2 separate regions of the Homo sapiens genome follow, and region 2 is linked to region 1. Evidence: promoter capture Hi-C in human tissues and cell types (Jung and others, 2019). All regions are on one chromosome and are shown on one strand. The core of a region is centred on a gene start or on the middle of the fragment in contact, and the rest is flanking DNA. Distances in the headings are between cores, read along the strand shown.

Region 1 (2,700 bases), core at 167-2,666:
CACGCATATATACATATATGGAGAGAGATACATATTTTAGTACATGTAGCAATTGATTAATAAATGTACAGTTTAAGTCGCATGCAAAACCTTGGAGTGATAGCAAACTTCATTGTAGGATGTTTAGCAGCATCTCTGGTCTCTACTCACTAGATCCCAATAGCATCTCCCTAGGTGTGACAACCAAAAATGTCTCCAGGCATTGACCTCTGGAGGCAAAAAAAGCCCTTTATTAAGAACCAGTGGTATACATAAGTAAAACATACACAAGAGATTCCTCCCCTCTTCTCTGTATGTGAATAAAAATTGCAAAGTTCATGACCTGGATTTTCCTTTTAGGTTTCTTCTTTAGTGGTTCTTAACTTCATTGGGTGAAGTAAGCCTTTGAAGATCTGTTGAAAGCTGTTGACTCATTCACTTCTCAGGAAAACGCACATGCTGACTACCATTTCAGAGAATTTGCATCAGGGTTCTCTGGGGAGGAGTTCTGAGTTCTGTTTCCAGGAGCTCGTAGAATTGTCATGGTCTGCATATGCAAGGCAGGTGGATTACGGAAGGTTGATGTACAGAGGTCTGTATTTTGGAGCCTCTTCTGTATTTACTTCAGAACACTAACAATCAGGCGAGAATGTTCTGGTTTATCAAACCCTTCCTTCTGCCTTTCATCTTAACCATGCATTAGTTTTAACAAAGTTCATCCCAACAGAAGACAAAACACTGATGAGGTAGGATAGCTCCAGCTCCTCCTCCCTCTCTTCTAGTCTTGATTTCCATGTAGTCCAGTTTATTCCTTCCCTGATTGTCCAGGAGAATGAGAAAAAGAAAAAACAGAGTCTAGTGGGTAAGAAAGGGCCACCTGGACGGCTTGATTTGGATTGTGAAATAAAACACACACACATGCACACGTAGAATAAGTGGCTAAAATCTGAGTAAATCGTGAACTCTCTGTATCCTCCACCCATTGAATACTCCTAAAAGACTTTCTAGAAATTCAAGGACTTATTAATATAGAAACCTGGCCATTGTTCCTCTTCTCCTCCCCATGTGGTATGAGAGCACCTGTGGCAGGCTCCCAGAGACCACGGACCTCTTCCTCTAGGCGGGCTCTGCTCTTCTTTAAGGAGTCCCACAGGGCCTGGCCCGCCCCTGACCTCGCAACCCTTGAGATTAGTAACGGGATGAGTGAGGATCCGGGTGGCCCCTGCGTGGCAGCCAGTAAGAGTCTCAGCCTTCCCGGTTCGGGAAAGGGGAAGAATGCAGGAGGGGTAGGATTTCTTTCCTGATAGGATCGGTTGGGAAAGACCGCAGCCTGTGTGTGTCTTTCCCTTCGACCAAGGTGTCTGTTGCTCCGTAAATAAAACGTCCCACTGCCTTCTGAGAGCGCTATAAAGGCAGCGGAAGGGTAGTCCGCGGGGCATTCCGGGCGGGGCGCGAGCAGAGACAGGTGAGTTCGCCCTGAAGATGCCCACACCGCCCGGCCCGGGCTCCACTCCCGGGGAGGCCTCGAGGGTTGCGGATGGGACTCTTAAGTGGTCACGGATCAGGTGGGCAGGGGGCAGTACAGCTTTCTTTCTGAGACGCCGAGAGCGAACAGGCTGCTCGGAAAACAGGACGAGGGGAGAGACTTGCTCAATAAGCTGAAAGTTCTGCCCCCGAGAGGGCTGCGACAGCTGCTGGAATGTGCCTGCAGCGTCCGCCTCTTGGGGACCCGCGGAGCGCGCCCTGACGGTTCCACGCCTGGCCCGGGGGTCTGCACCTCTCCTCCAGTGCGCACCTGGAGCTGCGTCCCGGGTCAGGTGCGGGGAGGGAGGGAATCTCAGTGTCCCCTTCCAGCCTTGCAAGCGCCTTTGGCCCCTGCCCCAGCCCCTCGGTTTGGGGGAGATTTCAGAACGCGGACAGCGCCCTGGCTGCGGGCCATAGGGGACTGGGTGGAACTCGGGAAGCCCCCAGAGCAGGGGCTTACTCGCTTCAAGTTTGGGGAACCCCGGGCAGCGGGTGCAGGCCACGAGACCCGAAGGTTCTCAGGTGCCCCCCTGCAGGCTGGCCGTGCGCGCCGTGGGGCGCTTGTCGCGAGCGCCGAGGGCTGCAGGACGCGGACCAGACTCGCGGTGCAGGGGGGCCTGGCTGCAGCTAACAGGTGATCCCGTTCTTTCTGTTCCTCGCTCTTCCCCTCCGATCGTCCTCGCTTACCGCGTGTCCTCCCTCCTCGCTGTCCTCTGGCTCGCAGGTCATGGCAGCGCCAGGCGGCAGGTCGGAGCCGCCGCAGCTCCCCGAGTACAGCTGCAGCTACATGGTGTCGCGGCCGGTCTACAGCGAGCTCGCTTTCCAGCAACAGCACGAGCGGCGCCTGCAGGAGCGCAAGACGCTGCGGGAGAGCCTGGCCAAGTGCTGCAGGTAGCGGCCGCGCGGGCCTGCGTAGAGAGAAGCGGAGCGGGGCGTCCACGCCTTGGGGAGGGAAGGGCGTCCCCAGCGGGCGAGAGTGGGGTGCGGGCGGCGGAGCCCCTGGGCGCCAGCTGCTTCTCCCAGAGGCCCGACTTTCGGTCTCCGGTCCTCCACGCCGCCCTTCTGGTGGGAGGGTGGCTCCATCAGTCTCGGGCCCGAAATGAACTTACCTGGGAAACTCGCCTTTGGGGAGAGTGGGTTCTAGGAGCCCCGTCTCTCTTTTTCCTCTCTGAAGGAAACTTGGAGTGCCTCTTGGGG
Region 2 (2,775 bases), core at 276-2,775, 34 kb after region 1:
TGGGAATCTAGGATGGGGATAGGAAGAGCATAGAAAAGCCAGCCAGACATACAAAGCACGCTTTTTAGTACCTCATACACATCATATTGCCTCAGGCTGACCCAACTATAATCTAAATATAAATGATCAATTTGCCAGGTAGAGCAAGTGCTTTCTAATTTTCTGTTTATATTTGCTGTGTCTGTCTCCCGTAACTCAGACCTTTTGCACTAGACAGTACTTGTGCTCAACAAAATCTTCCCAGTTGTTTCCTCTCTGATTGCTTTGCTTGTAGTTCCCTGTCTCCTTTTCTTCTTTGTTTCAGAGCTTCTAATCTTCATCTTGGCTCTGCCCCAGCTGTCTCAACAGAGAATTCATTGGTCATCTAATCAAACGAGAGAGTAGTCCCCACCCCCTCAGCCTCTCTCCTAACTAGTATGGATCTTAGGAGAGCTATTTTTGCCAGCGAAGGTAAAGTTTCTGAAGCTTCCTTTTACCCCTGCTATTGCCCCGTTACTCCATAGTCACTGTTTCAGGCTGCCTTGGGGCAAAGCTCTGAGCCTGCCTCCGTGGAACTGTCAGAGGAGGCAGGAGACACAATCCCACCTCTCAATGTGCAAATGTGGCATTTCGAATTTGCAATAGGATGAGTAAATTTATTTTCTCTGAGACTTTAATGAGACCATGTGCTACAAGTACGAAGTGTTATCAGAGTTGCTATTATAGCTGCAGCTTCAATAATGCAGAAAAATCAGCTATGTGCCATGAGAATTTATTTCCCAAGAATACGACAATGATCTCTGTTGTTGGGAAAGGGGGGATTGGTCCATGTTTCCTGCCATGGTAAATAACTAGAAGCTTGGCCTGAATGGACGCCGAAACCGCAGGTGTGTACTATCACCAAATAAAATCCCTGTCAAACTGGCTTTAATTTCATAGGATCAGTCCCCATATTTTCTTTAACTTCTCTGCCATAGCATATATAGATGCCATTTTTGTTCAGTTTTGTGGCTTGAGCAAATAACTATCACTTTTCTCGACAGTATTGAGCAGAAGGGGGAGACAGGGAAGTATGAAGTGTGTCTGTGAACAGGCTGTCTCATACACACATCCAGTGAGCTGGAAGACACAAGGGAGAAGGACGAATCCTTTTCATAGGAGGTGTGTGTCTTCCAGGTTGCTGGCATCATCTCTGCTGCGATTGTGATGATCGCCATTCTTGCCCTGGGGAAGCTTCTGGAACCCTTGCAGAAGGTATAACCCTGCTTCTCTGCATACCGATTGCATAATTTCCCTTCACTACTCTGCTACCAGATAAATAACAGGAGATTTAACAATCATCACATGGAAAACCATTCCCTGAATAACACAGCCTTCTCTGTCTCTCTTGGCAGTCGGTCTTGGCAGCTGTTGTAATTGCCAACCTGAAAGGGATGTTTATGCAGCTGTGTGACATTCCTCGTCTGTGGAGACAGAATAAGATTGATGCTGTAAGTCACCTACCACCTATATTTATCTGAAATAAGATTTGGTTCTTATATGCTTCCTGCCATATCACTATATTCCCCCCATCCCCTAAGTCTCACTTGTGCTTTGGGAACTCCAGAGGAGAAATTAGAATTGTGGGGATAAATCAAAGCCATGAAGTCTTCCATGTGAACTGCATTTTGTGAAGATTCTGTATCTCTGGGAAGGTCAATTTCCAGCAAGAATCCCATATGAGGCTCATTCATACACCTTTGGCCTTCTAAACACAAAAAGCAAAAAAATGTTTAAACACCCTAGTTTAGAAGGACAAACAACATACAAAACAATGCAAAAACAAAATACAAAATGTAAAAACCCACGCTGACTTTAACTCTGACTAACATAACCTTTGCAACTATTCTGAGAAACTAAAAATCAGAAGCTAAATCCTTCAGAGTTCCTCTCTAATTTAAACCATAAAAAGAATGAGAAGACTTCCTACATATTGATATGGAAAATTTTCCAAGACAAATCGTTAAGTGAAAAAGAGACCAGAATAGAAATGCTGGGGAAAAGCACAGACACAGGCAGAAATAAAAGCGGATACAAGGAGGGAGGGAAGTTGGGAATGGGTGGAGAAGGGGGAGGGTTGTGAGCAAGAGTTTTCCCCTTTTTAATGATAATTCCCTTATGAACCATACAAATATATTAGCTATTCAAAAATTTAGAAATAAATAAAATGGGACAGTTGGTCTTAATTGAGAAGCCCAGTTTCTACAGCTACTTAAATATAAAATGAATGAAGTCACAATATTTTTAAAAAGCTGTGATTTGGCCAGGCACAGTGGCTCAGGCCTGTAATCCCAGCAATTTGGGAGGCAGGAGGATCACTTGAGCTCAGGAATTTGAGACCAGCCTGCGTAACACAGTGAGACCTTGTCTCTACTACAAATAAAAGATTAAAAATTAGCCGGGTTTGGTGGTATGTACTTGTGGGTAGTCCCAGCTACTTGGGAGGCTGAGGCGGGAGGATCACTTGAATCCAGAAGATGGAGGCTGCAGTGAACTATCATGGTGCCACTGCACTCCAGCCTGGGCAATAGAGTGTGACCCTATCTCAAAAGAAAAAAAAAAATGTAATTTGTTTGTGGATCATTGATCTTATTTTTATAGGTAGTTATCACATGATGGTACCTGATACATTAATATAATTCTTTTCATTTCTATTTTTTTCCCTAGGTTATCTGGGTGTTTACGTGTATAGTGTCCATCATTCTGGGGCTGGATCTCGGTTTACTAGCTGGCCTTATATTTGGACTGTTGACTGTG

Evidence for each region. The method cuts DNA at HindIII sites, captures the fragments that hold promoters and counts their contacts. A contact is called where the count stands out against the background at its distance.
Region 2: a fragment that was not itself captured here is called in contact with the fragment with the promoter of SLC26A4 in region 1 in 1 of the 25 tissues and cell types used here (hippocampus).

Annotation. Positions count from the first base shown.
Region 1 is chr7:107,659,412-107,662,111 of GRCh38, forward strand. SLC26A4 (solute carrier family 26 member 4) reads left to right here and starts at 1,417. Exons shown (of 21, transcript NM_000441.2): 1 at 1,417-1,444; 2 at 2,228-2,394. The coding sequence starts at 2,231. It overlaps SLC26A4-AS1 (SLC26A4 antisense RNA 1), which reads right to left and starts at 2,387. Exons shown (of 2, transcript NR_028137.1): 1 at 2,191-2,387; 2 at 1-795. The HindIII fragment of the contact is 16,998 bases long and covers 1-2,700 here.
Region 2 is chr7:107,693,248-107,696,022 of GRCh38, forward strand. SLC26A4 (solute carrier family 26 member 4) reads left to right here. Exons shown (of 21, transcript NM_000441.2): 11 at 1,156-1,233; 12 at 1,374-1,469; 13 at 2,686-2,775. Among named protein-coding and RNA genes, the nearest start is that of SLC26A4-AS1, 33 kb to the left of the region's middle. The HindIII fragment of the contact is 5,968 bases long and covers 1-2,775 here.